Regions from separate parts of the Homo sapiens genome. Here regions 2, 3 and 4 are each linked to region 1. The links are contacts of gene promoters, found by promoter capture Hi-C in blood cells and fetal thymus (Javierre and others, 2016). All regions are on one chromosome and are shown on one strand. Each heading gives the region's core, a stretch centred on a gene start or on the middle of the fragment in contact. The rest is flanking DNA. Distances are from core to core; before and after follow the strand shown. Region 1 holds the start of SAMM50 (SAMM50 sorting and assembly machinery component). Region 2 has its middle 3.3 kb from the start of RTL6. Region 3 has its middle 22 kb from the start of LINC00207. Region 4 holds the start of LINC00207 (long intergenic non-protein coding RNA 207).

Region 1 (3,527 bases), core at 532-3,031:
TACTCTGGCTTTGTTTGATTTGCCGCCAGGAGTCACTATGTTGTTCTTTGCTTTGTATACATGAGCCCAAATAGAATTCTGTTTCATCTCGGGCATAAACACCTTCAATTTTAAGAAGAGCTGTGTGCTCCCTTTGGTTCCGGAGACTCCACTTATAGCCAGCAAAAATGGCCTTGGACCACAGCCTTCCAGACATATTTCCTTTCAGAAGTCCTGCTCCCGGCAGGCCGCCACAGGAGCCAAGATGGCAGGAAGAGCTCAGGTTGCACTCTGACCTACTTGCTAGTAACCAAAAGTCACAGATACTATTTGCATCCCCATTGATTTTACAGATAGGATTTCTAAAATTAGAATCATAAGGCTTTTGCTTAAGAGTTGCTTTAGATGTTTTTCAGATCTCGAATTCCAGCAAAACTGATGCTGCCAACCAGTTTGAAGACTCCTCCCCGCAACAGAGGAACGGAATCAGCATGAGAAGTTTCCTCATCTCCCTGTCCCATAACTTCACCCTTCACTCTTCCACCAATCAAGGATCTCCACACTTCAGCAAAAACATGAGGTCCAAACTCCTGAAGGAGATGGATTTGAGGTTTCCTCTCTTTTCCCATCTCCTCGTTCAGCGGCCCTGCAACTGAAACTCTTTCTCTGCTGCAACCCACTGTCTGAGTGTATTGACTTATCGAGCACACTGAGCAACAGACCTATTACAGTTACACAAAGAGATGTCAGAAGAGAAACGGTGTTTGATCTGAATGAAAGACATATAAAGGGAAGTTAAGTCCAATTATCGATGTCAGGCTGCGACTTCTGTGCTAAATTTTTTTGGAAGTTAATGGGGAACTACTGAAAACGTCTATGCAGGTCAAGTGAAGCAATCAAAGTTGCAGTAGAAAAGTAGTGTTGGGGCTGAGACTCAGGAAATCTGAGGTTTTAGGCCATTTGGAACCAGTAACTATGTGACCTTGGAGAAGTAACTCATTATCTGGCCCTTATTTAAGATTAGGATAAACGAGAGGAGTTTGGCAACCAGTACAGTTAGTCAGGCGCCAGGCACCCAAGTATTCACATGCATTGTCTTTTAATTCTCTTTTAAGCCAGGCGAGGTAGGTACTATTACTACCTCCACTTTAAAACAGGAAGTAAGGCAGAGAGCGGTTCCGTCTTTTGCACGGTAGACAGGAGAAAAGAGGACCCCTAGATAGGTTTGAGTTAGAAGACTTCAAAGGATTCTTGTTGCTCTAGGAGCCTACAATGGCTCCAGCAGCGGCTGAGCGGGGAAAGGCTGGAAGTGACCAGTAAAGAGAGAAAACTTAAAATCATGCAAAGAAAGAGCACATTCACTGCGGTCTAAGACATCACAGAAAGTTGGCAAGTCCTTTGGGCCACGGACTCGCCGAGTGACCTTTAGCCAAGTCTCGTCCCTCCTATCAGGTTCCTGCTCGAAGGTCTGCAAGACTCGCTGGCCCGAGGCGACCTCTTTTCGGCCTCCTCCACCCAGCCCGGCACCCTTGGCACCCTCTCTCCCGGTGAACCCTGGGCGCAGCCACGAGAGCGTCTCCCCGCGGCGCCCGTCTGCCCTGCTGGCCCAGAGGCCTCGCAGCCCGCGGGTCGCTGGGCCTCTTACCCGGGCGTGCACAGTCCCCATGGTTCCCTCTCCAGCCGCTGCCTCGCAGAGCTGCCCGGGCGGGACAGAGCGTCTGCTGCTGAGGGCAGAAGGCGGGTCCGCGGTGGCGGAGCTGCAGGTCAAGGCAACTCCCACAAACCCCCGGACGCGGAACACTGGGGGCGGCCATGATTCCCCGCCTTCTCCGCGCCCCCTGGCTCGCGATGCCTTCGCTCATTGGTCCTTATGCGCCTGTGACCCGGATGTTCACACGGCCGCGGAGGACGTTCTGACTGCGCAAGCGAAGAGCGTTCACTGACATCCGCGAAGCTGCTGGCGCGTGGACTGTGTGGGGAGGGCGCGTGGGGTGAAGGTGGGTCTGCGAGAGGGTCCGCTGGGAGGCTGGCGTCTGGCGTTGGCGCCTGAAAGAGATCAGACCAGCTGTTGGGTGTCACTCAAGTCCTGCTGCTCTTAGCCCTCCTAGCACCCCCGACCCGAGGGTGCTGTGCTTGTGCCCACGCGCCGGTGAAGCCCCGAGACTCAGCGGGGAGACCCCGGGTCCGGCCACCCCCGAGCTGCAGTAGTCGGGTCTCACCGGCATCTGCTACACAAACCCGGATTGGTGCCCTGGCTCCTTTCGTTCAAGTCATTGGAACCCCCACTCAAAATCGTCAAAATGAAGACGATGGTCGTGTCTCCTTCTTGGGGGTTGGATTAAAAGGGCCTAATGTGAGAGACGGAAAGCAAAGCTCCCGGCACCGGGCCGGGCACACGGTGGGCGCTAGATAATGACCGCTATTCACTCAACTGCAGCCAGTAATTATGGGCGAGGGCCATCTAGGTGCTTGCATGAGAACCAGTCATATCGGTGAAGAAGACGGCCATGGGCTTAGGTTTTGGTGGCAAAACAGCTCCCCTGCCCCAAAAAAGAAAAGAGAATAGAAAAGAAAAAGGCATAATAAATATCAGCCACACATTGTGATAAGTATATTGAAAGAAACGAGACAGAATAAGAAAAGAGGAAGCTTCAGTATCCTGTCACGTTGCCACTCCCTTCTGATAACAGAAGCATCTTTTCTTCTGTCCCCTTACTCCCTCCCAGAAACCCTGACACCCTTTCCATTTAAATAGCAGCACCCTAGGCCTCCAACATCCCTGAGCTAAATATTCAAGTCCACATGTCCCTTCTTGCCTGGAAAGAGACAGAACCCAGCACCAGCCAGGCCCCTGCCCTTCCCTCACTCTCAGTTCCCTGAGCCTCAATTCCTTATCTGTAAAATGGAAATGATAGCCTAAGGCATAAGGTCTGAGGACCTCATGAGATCAAGCATGGGGCCTGGCACTCTGTAAACATCGAATCAACCAGATTTTCTTTGCCCAAACAGCCCTCTTTTCTTACACTTTCTTCCTCGTTATTCTTCTGAGTATGCCACTTGTAAAGGATAAGCCATGAGGTTGCCCTGCAGAGTGCAAGATGGTTGCAATATTTGAGAGCCTATTGTGTGTGAGGCCCTGGAGGATGGCAGAGGGAACAGGAGGAAAACAAAGTCACATGCTTTACCCTCAAACAAAGGGCTGTCTGCGATAGTTACAATGTATATATTAAAGGCTATCTGTGATAGTTACAATGTATATAATATATTAAAGGCTGTCTGTGGTAGTTAACAATGTGTATATTAAAGGCTGTGATAGTTACAATGGGTATACTATATTAAAGGCGGTGGTAGTTACAATGTATATAATATATTAAAGGCTGTGATAGTTACAATGTACATAATATATTAAAGGCTGTGATAGTTATAATGTATATATTAAAGGCTGTCTGTGATGGTTATAATGTATATAATATATTGAAGGCTGTCTGTGATGGTTATAATGTATATAATATACTGAAGGCTGTCTGTGATAGTTAAGATGTATATAT
Region 2 (4,048 bases), core at 1,532-4,031, 550 kb before region 1:
GAAGCGTGAACCCTCTTAGTTCTTTAAAATTGTTTTGGCTATTGTAAGTCCATTGAATTCTCATATGAACTTCTGAATCAGCACACTAGTTGCTGCAGAAAGGCAGCTGGAAATTTGATAGGGATCACATTGAGTCTGTAGATAAATTTGAGGAGTGTTGCCAGTGTTTGGCTAGAGTAGAGTGATCACTGTCTAAGTTTCCTCTCTTGCTAGGCTGCCCCTGCCCCCCACTTTGTTTATTTGTTTGTTTGTTTTTGTCTAGAGAGAGCAGGCTTTTATGGAGGGGGTGCTTTTTTTTTGTCTGCACCCATTGGCATTTCGGGGTTGCCAGCTTCTTCAGCTCCAAGTCTGGGTTATATGATGCAAAAGAAAACTCGAGGAACTCACCACAGTGTTATTCCTTAGGTCCTGAGGTGCCTTCTCTCCACCTACTGCATCTTGTGGTTTTTTTTTTTCAAAGCTGTTTTTCGATACGTTTTCTGCAAAGAATAGGCATGAGTGCATCTACTCCATCTCACTGGAAATGGAAATCAACTACATTTTCTTTTAAAAGGTACTTTTTCACAGGTACCTGATCTTGGTACAATATGGCTTTTTCTCCACAATCTGTTCTTTTCACAAATATTATTCCTTCCTTGTTCTCACTGAGCATCCCAAATATACTTACTTTAAAGTCTGTTTTTTTCAGACTCTTCTATTATTTTAATTTCCTCTGGAGTTAATTCACCTTACAGTTATTGATTTTTCTTGACTATTATTCTTAGCATAAGATGTCTTCATGGGCTTCAGAATTTTGAATCTCAGACTCATTTTGTGTTGAAAGACTTTGTCTCTCTTTCTCTCTTGGTACTCCCTTCCCCCATCTAGCAGTTTGGGGTGGGTCCACTTGATGTCTGGTCTGTGGTAAAGAAATATATATATATACACACACATATATGCATATTATATATACACACACATACACATATACATACATATATACATATATGTGTATAATATATATGTGTATATATATTTTGTTGGTGGTTTGGAATCCTGACCCTCTTGGTCTACTTGTTAAACCAGGGGACAAGAGATTAAGATGACTATATCTGTGTTCTCCTTTGACCCAGGGCCACACTTTCACATAAACTGTCACACCCCACCCCCATGAAATGACTGAATCCAATTTTTCAGACTTTTTTTCTGACACAGGGGTGACTCCTCTCTCCTCCATCCCCTGGATTCAAATAGGAAGCCTGGCTGTGTTCCCAGCCTTGGGTCCCTATTATGTCTCAGGTCCAGAGCCCGGCAGGCCCACGTCAATACTCAGAAGTTTGTGTTTCTGGACCATTGTGAAGTTTATCTTGTTTATCGATTGGAGCCCACTTATATCCTTTCAATATTTTCTTTGCATATTTTATTGTTCTGTGTTCACAGCCCAGACAGGCACCTCAGGGCATGAATCATAGCTTCATCTGGATGAGAAGCCAAATATTCTTCTCCTGTTTTTACTTTTAAAAGTCCATTAATTTTTATTTTGCTCTATTTTATGGGCTGCCATCTAATTTCCCCTTGGAAGTAAAGTGAAATACAGATAAATTATTTATTTCTTTAAATGTTTTATCATTTCTGAAATTGGGGTGCATCTTATATTCAATGCACCTGGGAATTTAAGATTCATGGTGTCAACCACACTTAGAATTGCAGCAGACACTTCACTAATGTGCCCAGTATCCAGGGGCCTAGACAGACAGAGAGACAGAGAGACAGATGGAGTGACTCCCACGAGTGGATGGGATTCCTCTGTGTGTTTAGAAGAACCTGGAGGGGTAGAAGGCTGCAGGCTCATTTCTGCTTTTGAAGTCATTGACCTCAGTCAAGGTTAACACAGCTCCTGCCCCCATCTGATTTAGAAGGTCTCATGGAAGAAGTTTAAGGACACACAGTCTTCTTTATTTCCCTCTTGCTTCATGCTCTAGAAGTTTTCACCTGGTCACAAAGGGTGCACACTTTGGCACACTGGGGTACAAGTATCCTTTCCAAGTTCTGACACTGTAGTTGTGGGACCAGCCCAAACTGGGCCTACCCTGTTGGTAACAAAATGTCAAGCTGCCTTTTAGGTAGAACAGAGCCCAAAACTGCAAGTCATGTAGCCTGGGCATGTGCCGTAGAAAAAACTTTGACCTCCAACAACACCCAGAACCAATGATTCGTCCTCTTAGAACCAAGAAGACTGGGACATGACCAGAAGTTGAAAACCAGAACTCATTCACAAGCAAAGGGGTCCATCAGCCTGGAAGGTCTGGGGCTAAAATCTACTTTAATATACATTACCACATATGGTCAAATTTGAAGCCCTCCAATCAGACCCTGGCAAGCCAGCATTGATAAATACTTTCTCTTGCCACCTGATCCCTTAAAACTTGCCCCATACCTCAAATCAGGGAGACGGATTTGAGCCCACCTCCTCTCTCCTTGCTGGTCAGTTTTGCAATAAAGCTTTTCTTTTCTCAAAAGCTGGTGCCATATGTATCGGCTTCCGTGTGCATCAGGCAGCAAGACCACTTGCTCAGTAACAACATCCTTATGCCCTAATTCCCTTGAGTGAAAACTGCAGGTCTGAGTGAATCCAGCTCTGTCCCAGGCCTGCCTAAAGAGTGCAGATGGTTCCCAGCTTCAGCCTCCTTGAATACTGTGTCCTCAAAAGACTGGCATACTGGGTATTGTTAACTGAAGAATGACGAGGTTCATAAACCTGGAAAGGAGAGTTTTATTTATCATAAAAGGTTGCACCCTGCAGAGTGGCCATTTGAATAGGCTGGGAAGTGTAGCCTCTGGCCAGAAGCCATAAACAGGCACTTCAAGGGTTGGAAGAGTAAGACAGGAATTTATGTTGATCAGGGTGGCCAAATATACATATTCAATAAGCTACAGGAGGAGTTATAAATATTTATGAGAAGAGAAATATGCACATGTGCAACTGAGCTTCATCCCCCTTCATGGGTAGCACCTACAAAAAATGGCAGTGTTAGCGTGATCTGAAGGTGGAGTTTTCAGCCCTCTAATGTCAAAAGGTGTATCAGAGGACACAAAAGCTTTCACTGCACATCCTCCACAGGCTGGCCAGAACCACTCCAGGGTTGGTGGTCTCTTACTAGGAAAGAATGCTGGTCAGTTGTTGTGTGCCACAAAAAGGGAGGGGCAGTGTCAGATGGTTGGTTGGTATCAATGTTGAAGTCTTTCAAAGAGGCTTGTTTCTGTTTAACTCTTAAGGAAAAAAGCCTAATGGTGGTTATCGGTTATGGAGCGGGGGCAGATAATGAAGTGTGTCCAACCTCCCATCCCATCATGGCCAGGAACTCGGCTTCCCAGGTTTCTCTGGGGTCCCCTGGCCAAGAGGGGGTCTGTTCAGTTGGTTGGGGGGGGGGGGCTTAAATTTTTATTTTTATTTCTCAGTATCTTTTCTCTCCAGCCATGCCAGCTTGAAACTGACCATGCAGAAGGATCACCTAGGTCAAGCTGGGAATCCAGACCCGGAATCAAACAGTTCTTACCCTTTGGCCAGTGTATTAGTCTGTTTTCACGCTGCTGATAAAGACATACCTGAGACTGGGCAATTTACAAAAGAAAGAGGTTTATTGGACTTACAGTTCTGTGTGGTGGGGAGGCTCACAATGACGGCAGAAGGTGAAAGGCACGGAGGAGCAAGTCAGGTCTTACATGGATGGCGGCAGGCAAAGAGAGAACTTGTGCAGGGAAACTTCCCTTTTTTTTTTTTTTAATTTTTTTTTGAGATGGACTTTTGCTCTGTTGCCCAGGCTGGAGTACAGTGGTGCAATGTCTGCTCACTGCAAGCTCCGCCTCCTGGGTTCACGCCATTCTCCTGGCTCAGCCTCCCAAGTAGCTGGGACTACAGGCGCCCACCACCACGCCTGGCTAATTTTTTGTATTTTTAGTAGAGACGGGGTTTCACCATGTTAGCCAGGATGGTCTCGATCTCCTGACCTCGTGATCCACCCGCCTTGGCCTCCCAAAGTGCTGGGAGTACAGACGTGAGCCATTGTGC
Region 3 (3,729 bases), core at 975-3,474, 640 kb before region 1:
CACAGATCACATGCTTGTGAGGCCCACCCTGCTCAGTGTCTCGGGGCCTTTGGTGGTGTGGGGGATGGGCAGAGGGACAGCACGGAGAAGCCAGCCCCGTGGTTTCACGTCACCTCATCAAGCATTTGTGCTGGACAAAAATTGCCCTCCTTCCTTTTAGACCTATTTTAAGCTTGGCAGGCCCATGAATATTTGATCAGGAAATCATTTTCTCCATAAATGCCGGAGGTTGGAAGCTTTGCTATAGGAGGGGGCCTGAGAGTTAAGTGTCCCCTGAGTGATGGTGGAGGGGCTGGCCAGCCTGGAGGAGAGCAGGCTCAGGGCTGCGATGGCTGCAAACTGCTGACCTGCTCTGCTGGGCGGGGGAACCACGGGTCTGAGGCCTCTAGCATGGAGCTGGTCTTGGTGGGGCAGCCACGGGAGGAGGCAAATTCCCTTCCCAACAGGGGCTTGGGCTGGCCCTAGTCTGGAGGTGGGCTCCTTGTGTCCAGGTGTGGGCAAGGGAGGGGCATGGGAGGGGTGTCAAACCTCAGGGTGGTGGGTAGGTCAAGTGAGTCCTAAATATACCATTACAACTCCCAGAACCTCAGTATAAAAAAACCGCCCCTGCCATGCCTCTGCATGAAAAGTTCTTCTAAAAGAGTGCATTTGAGTGAGAAGTTGCCCCAAATCATATCCAAGTGCCTGCTACTAACGTCAAGATTCCCCACATCAATGGAGACCTGAGAGCTACTGATCTCTGCTTCTCTGCACGTGGCTGTCTCTGGGAGCAGCCCCAGTGCCTGAAGAAAACAGAGCCCCGCTCTGGGTTGTCCTCTGTGTCCTCCCCACACGGCTGGGAGACACATGCTCTTCTCTCCCCAATTTAGAGAACTGAAAATTAGCCTCTAGCTGCAGTGGGCAGGTCCACTGTGCCTTCAGGGTCAGCGTCTGCGAGGGCCAAGCCCTCTCCCAGTGGTCACAGGTCACAGGGCAGCCTGGTTGTGTCCCCACGCCCTGCATTGGTGGAGTTGGGAGTGGGGGCGCTGACGGTGTGTGCTTGTGGAGCCTGTGTCTCCCCATGTGCTGGCTGCTGCCTGCTGCTTTGTTTCTGCCCCTGTATCAGCGTCTCCATCCCATCTGCACACCCAGATGCAGTGAGCAGGGCCTCCTGGTGCCAGGGGGAGGCCGTAACAGCAGGATGGAAAAGGAGGGGCACCCCCACTCCCCTTTACCTGCCTTGAAATTTTTAGCTCTGAAGTTGCCTGCAAATACGGCCTCAAAGAGCCGCAGCCACAGTTTGGAGGTTGGTTGCCTGGAGGGGGTGCTGGGGTCTCAGAGTCTCCGGGCAAGGACAGGGGGCTGAATTGGGGGCCTGCCTGCTGCAGAGTGGGGCAGGGCCTTGCGAGGACTTGGGTCGGCAGCAGTGTGGTCACAGGCAGGACAGCCCGGCAGGGTGCGGAAGGAGGCGTCTTTTACCTCCCAGTTCATGGAGGCGGTTGGGCAGCTGTGGGCAGACAAGGACGCCAGCGCTGCTGAGGGTGAGCAGCTTCAGCCCGGGTATGGGTCCTCACTTGTCCTTACCGCAGGCCCGGGAGGGAGTATGACTGTTTAGGTCTCTGCTGCTTCCTCCTTGCATGGCCAGGTGAGGTGGCCTCTTGGGAGACCCCAAGTCGGTGAGGGAATTGGCACTCACAGAGGGAGGCTCCCGCAGTCACAGCCACACCTGGGACCCTTCTGCCACTCCCCAGGCCTAGAAGTCCGGGCTGGGCCCCACTCTAAGTGCTAGTTGACCTTGGGGAGATCTGGCTTCTCCCTGAGCCTCAGTGTCCTCATCTGTGCTATGGGTGTTCTCTTCTCCACCACGTTAGCATGTAGTGAGGTGAGATGGGCTGGGCGCTGGGGTTGTTGTCCCAGCTCCTCAGCTGGGTCTAATTTGGTGGCCCCGCCTCCTGGTGACTTTCTGACACCTGACTTTCCTGGTCTCCTCTTGCTGGGATGCCAGCGTCGGAGGCGCCTCTCCAGCTCCTCAAATCCAGCCCTGGAGGTTTCTTCTCCCGTCTCCACCTGCCTTGGCCCAAGTGTTGCTTCCAGCCCTTGATTGCACTAAAGCACCCGCTCTCATAGGCCACGGTGTGCCTCAGGCTCTGCAGAAGGTTCTAGATAGGGGGACGTGGTGGTGGGGAGTGGACAATTACCTCCACCAGCCTGGTACGGCATTGCTGATCTTAGAGCTGGTCCAGGAATTCTCACCACCAGGAATTCCTCAGCTCCCAGGGTCTCAGCCCAGGGCCCTGTGTGGTCTCGATTCCCCTCTCTCAAAGCCCCTGTCTCCCACTCAGTGGTCTGAGCTGTTGTCTTCTCTTTGGCCCTCTCGGGAGCCTCTAGGAACAGGCCTCTGGGAAAGCCACACTCTCACCAGCCGTGGGTAAAGGGGGCTGGGGTGTGGGCAAATCCTGGGCAGTCTCCCCAAAGAGGAGCTCTGTGACCAGCTTTCATACAACGGCCCCTTTCCTCCCTCCCGTGGGGCCTCTCGACATGCCTGGTGTCCCACAGGGTGCCAGCCGCCTTGCCCGCAGCCCCTCAGCCCTGGGCCAGTGCCGCCCCTGTCCTCGCTCACAGGGTGGCCTTGGCAGCCCGGCCCCAAGGTCTACCCGGTGGTCCTTTTACCACCCAGAATACACTCAGGTCCTGGCCTGGAAGCTCTCTCGGCCCTGGAGCCATGACACTTTAAATCCATCCCGAGAGGCTGGCTGCCCTCATGAGGGATGGAGAGACTTAGAGACCAGCCCGGAGCTTGAATTTGACCTCCCTTACTTGCCGTATAGCCTCAGACAAGTTGGCCAGTCTGATGTGAGCTTTGCCATTTGCCAAGTGGGGCTGTAGCCCTTGCATTGTGAGGTTGGCTAACTGTGCAAGATGGAGCAGACCCTTGGTGCCAGTGCTTGCATGGCTGGAGGGCCCAGAAGGTCTGGCCTGAGGTCTGTCCGACCTCTCTGCTAACTCGAGGGTCTCCTCTGGGACTGTATCAAGCGTTGGCGGATGCCACAAGTGGTCTGTGGCTGGTGGTCAGCGTGGCAGGCTTGGTCCAGCAGGTGGACTTGGGTGTCTATCATGGGGACTTTGTGCTGAGGTGGCAGTGGCCTCTCAAGCTATTACTGTTGATTTCATTTCATGAAAAAAATGTTTAATGAAAAGAAATATGAAAACTTCAAAGGACTAACAAGGATGCAGGTTTCCACCTCACAAAATTAATTACATGAACACTTTGGCATATTTGCTTCTAATTTTCTTTTTCCCTCCCTCCTTCCCTCCTTTTCTGCCTCCTCCTCTCTCCTCCTTCTGATTAGGAAAAAAAAACACTCTATGGCTTTTTATAAAATGATCCATGCTCATTGTATCAGTCAGAAGGATGTAGGTTGTGTTGCAGTAACAAACAGCCCCACATATCGGTAACTTTAAAGCCTCTCCTCTGAAGTGACAGCTCTCATTTTCTCACATCTCATTTCTACATGCATAGGCCAAAGAAAGCCACATGGCCACGCCTGGCATCAAGGGGACCAGGAGGTGCGTGACCCCATCATGTGCCCCGGGAAGAGATCTGGACACTCAAGTGACCACCACACTCGGCAAACAGGACACAAATAAGGGAGGAAAAAAACAATATTGAGGGTGCAGAAAGTACGCACATCCTGCTCTCCAGAAGTAACAATCTCTGATAGCATTTGAACATCACTCTGGACAAATGAA
Region 4 (3,495 bases), core at 125-2,624, 610 kb before region 1:
GGCTCCGGACAGCGTCCTCTCTGCCCGCCAGCAACCCTTCCTTGCCTCTGGGGCCAGCACTTTGTTTTTCCCTCAAGGAGCCAGCTCACCTTCTGTGTCATGCTGTACTGACCCCCACGCCTTACCAGCCCATCATGCACGGTGTTCCCCTCTGGTTCAGTGATTGGATCCCAAGCAGGATGTGTAACCATCCATTCTCCTCTTTAAACAGAACCTGTTTTGTTGGAGTGAAAGTTTGCCCCCTTAAAAATAGGTGTTACCAGGTTCCCTTGCAGCTAGGAGTGGCCATGGACATAAGAGGAAGTCTGCCAGTTTAATTTCCCATAAAAGGGGATGGTCTCAGGGGCACACACCCTTCTTCCTGCCTGGAATGTGGATCTGATGCCCAGAGCAGGAGCAGCCACATTGCAACCATGAGGATAAAAGGTGCAAAGACTGGACTTTCTGACAAAGATGGTGGCACAGATGCACACATGTACATTTGCCTCTTCTTGAACCCTCACTAAAATGATGGTAAAGATCACTTTACGGACATTACCCTCAAGCAGAAAGAGAAAAGGGGAGGAGGCCCAAGCACCAACATTTTGGAGACTGGAAACCTGGTGGATGAGCCGTAACCCACTAGGTGAGCTTGAGAAGCTGAAACATGGCCGGCCAGCAGCATGCAAAGATGAGAAGCAACAATGGGCTGGGAGGATGGAGATGCCAGATATTTCTGGAGGGGAGTGAAGGAGGATTGTTTCAAACAACAGCAGTTAGTCTTCCTCTCACGGGAGGGACAGAGACAGAGACAGCTATCCACTCCCACTGCTTACACAACTGGGAGATTGCCCCTCCCTGAGCCTGGCAGAAACCCCAAGATTTATTATCAAGAAAGGGTCTGGCAGAGGCCTCTGGACTGGGGGATGCCACTCCAAAAGCAGGGCATGTACTGAGTATTGGAGACCCCCGCCTCTTTCTCCTTGCAGCCCCCGGAAAACCGGCAGCCAGGCCTCACGTGCAGCAGGGGGGAGCTGGGGGATCATTTTGGTTGGGGTCAGTTCCACTGACCTTCCTAGTGGAAATCCTCACACTCTGACCCCCAGTGACCCCCCGGGGAAGCAATCCGCCAGATCACCTGCAGTGGAGACCGCAGTCAGAAAACGCTACCCAAGGGCTCAGCACTTCCAATCAGCTTCTTTGTTTTTTAAATGAAGTAGACATTTAAATGACGTTTATATTCAGTGAAGTGCACAGATCTTAGCACAGTTTGATGAATTTTGGCAAACTTACTCCCATGTCACACGCCTCCCTCAAGGTAGAGGACATTTCTGCCAGCTGGAAAATCTCTCACCAGGTCACCCTCCCATCTGATCCCCGTCTCCATCGCCTGTCCTCCCCATCCCCTGCAGGCCGTGCTGTTCCGATTTCTATCAGCATAGAGGAGCCCTGTCTGTTCTAGAAGTTCATATAGATGACATCACACAGCACATACTCTTCTATATCAGGCTTTGTCACCTAGTAGAATGTTTTTGAGAGTCATCCATGTATTGCAGGCCTCAGGGGTTTGCTCCTTTCTGTGGTTAAATGATCTTCCATGGTTTAGAATGGAATATTTATCCACTCTCCTCTTGACGGACATTTGAGTTCTTAATAGTTCTTGGCTATCACAAATAAAAGTGCTATGAACATTCTTGTACAAGTTTTTATGTGGACATGTGCTTGCTTTTTTTTTTAATTGAATAAATAACTAGACATAGAATTGTTTGGTCACAGCAATTTTGTTTAACTTTACGGGAAATTGCCATATTGATTTTTAAAGCAATTGTACCATTTCACATTCTTACCAACAATGTATGCATTCTAGTTGCTCCGTATCTTTGTCAACACTTGTTAGGGTCTTTAAATTTTAGCCATTCTGGTGGATATGTAGTGGTATCTTGCTGTGACTAAAATGTGTACTCCCCTCCCCCAATGACTAATGGTGTTGAAGATGATTTTTATGTACTTATTTGCCATTTATGTATCTTTTTTGGTGAAGTGTTTGTTTAAATCTTTGTCCCATTTTTGGGAACTTTTAATTTTTTTTTTTTTTTCCAGACAGAGTTTTGCTCTTGTCACCCAGGCTGGAGTGCAATGGCGTGATCTTTGCTCACTGCAACCCCCACCTCCCAGGTTCAAGTGATTCTTCTGCCTCAGCCTCCTGAATAGCTGGGATTACAAGCATGCACCACCACGCCCAGCTAGATTTTTGTATTTTTAGTACAGAGGGGATTTCACTATGTTGGCCAGGCTGGTCTAGAACTCCTGACCTCAGGTGATCCGCCCTCCTCAGGCTCCCAAAGTGCTGGGATTACAGGCGTGAGCCACCCCGCCCAGCCGGATTTTTAAAATTATTGAGTTGTAAGAGTTCTTTTATTTTTTTTAACCTCTGAACTTTTTATTGGCCTCCTGCTCTCTAAAGGGTACCCTGCTTCTGCTGCCTTAATGTCTCAGAACTTTGGTGTCGTTGGTCTCAGACACCACTTTGCCATCCACTCTCTGGTGGGTGGTGGTCTTTGGAATGGTTTGCATGGAGTTGCTGCTGTCCAGGGCATCTCCAAGATTGAAGTCCTTGCCATCTTCCAGCAGGTGGCAGTAGGTGGCGATCTCAGCCTCCAGCTTGACCTTGATGTTCAGCAGGGCCTCATACTCCTGGGCCTGGCACTGTCCCTTTGCCTGGGTCTGTGCCAGCTCTGACCCCAGGTGCAGCAGGATCCCGTTGAGCTGCTCCATCTGCAAGGTGTAGCAGGCCTTCACCTCCCTCACGCTGTTCTCCAAACTGGCTTTCAGATTTCTCATGGAGTTCAGGTTGATCTCCAAGGACTGGACTGTACATCTCAGCTCTGTGAGCGTCATCTCAGCAGCTCCAGCCTTGGCAGACTGCGTGGTGACCACTGTGGTGCTCTCCTCAATCTGCTGAGACAAGTACTTGTCCAGCTCCTCTCCGTTCTTCCAAGCCAGCTCGTCATATTGGGCCCGGATGGCTGCCATGATCTTGGCGAGGTGCTGAGATTTGGGGATCTACCTCCATGGTCAACCCAGAGCTAGCAATCTGGGCTTGTAGGCCTTTTACTTCCTCTTCGTGGTTCTTCTTCATGAAGAGCAGCTCCTCCTTGAGAGCCTTGATCTCTGTCTCCAGCTGCAGCCGAGTGACGTTGGTGTCATCATTGACCTTACAGAGTCCATGGATGTTGCTCTCCACAGACTGGCACATGGCCAGCTCTGTCTCATACTTGACTCTAAAGTCATCAGCAGCAAGATGGGTGTTGTTGATCTGCAGAACAATGCAGGCATTGTCTACAGTAATTGCCAAGCTCTGAGCCCTCTGGTTCCTGATGGTCTTGAAGTAATGGCTCCAGTCTCTGACCTGGGGTCCCTTCTTCTCCAGGTGCTCCCAGATTTTGCTCTCCAGCTTCCGGTTCTTGGTCTCCAGGTGCCTCACTCTGTCCGGGTAGGAGGCCAGCAGTCGTTCAG

Evidence for each region. The method cuts DNA at HindIII sites, captures the fragments that hold promoters and counts their contacts. A CHiCAGO score of 5 or more calls a contact.
Region 2: a fragment that was not itself captured here is called in contact with the fragment with the promoter of SAMM50 in region 1 in 5 of 17 cell types (total B cells, naive B cells, naive CD4 T cells and 2 more); the score reaches 8.5 in total B cells.
Region 3: a fragment that was not itself captured here is called in contact with the fragment with the promoter of SAMM50 in region 1 in 1 of 17 cell types (endothelial precursors); the score reaches 5.5 in endothelial precursors.
Region 4: the fragment with the promoter of LINC00207 here is called in contact with the fragment with the promoter of SAMM50 in region 1 in 2 of 17 cell types (endothelial precursors and monocytes); the score reaches 6.6 in endothelial precursors.

Annotation. Positions count from the first base shown.
Region 1 is chr22:43,953,696-43,957,222 of GRCh38, reverse strand. It overlaps SAMM50 (SAMM50 sorting and assembly machinery component), which reads right to left and starts at 1,781. Exons shown (of 15, transcript NM_015380.5): 1 at 1,625-1,781. The coding sequence starts at 1,645. It also overlaps the pseudogene RPL35AP36. RefSeq lists enhancers at 1,037-1,246, 1,052-1,803, 1,927-2,006, 2,087-2,136, 1,804-2,556 and a silencer at 1,689-1,963. The HindIII fragment of the contact is 6,277 bases long and covers 1-2,630 here.
Region 2 is chr22:44,499,551-44,503,598 of GRCh38, reverse strand. No RefSeq gene overlaps it. Among named protein-coding and RNA genes, the nearest start is that of RTL6, 3.3 kb to the right of the region's middle. The HindIII fragment of the contact is 596 bases long and covers 2,484-3,079 here.
Region 3 is chr22:44,589,315-44,593,043 of GRCh38, reverse strand. No RefSeq gene overlaps it. Among named protein-coding and RNA genes, the nearest start is that of LINC00207, 22 kb to the right of the region's middle. RefSeq lists an enhancer at 116-617. The HindIII fragment of the contact is 3,971 bases long and covers 239-3,729 here.
Region 4 is chr22:44,567,219-44,570,713 of GRCh38, reverse strand. LINC00207 (long intergenic non-protein coding RNA 207) reads right to left here and starts at 1,374. Exons shown (of 4, transcript NR_028411.1): 1 at 1,273-1,374; 2 at 126-214. It also overlaps the pseudogene KRT18P23. The HindIII fragment of the contact is 7,812 bases long and covers 1-3,495 here.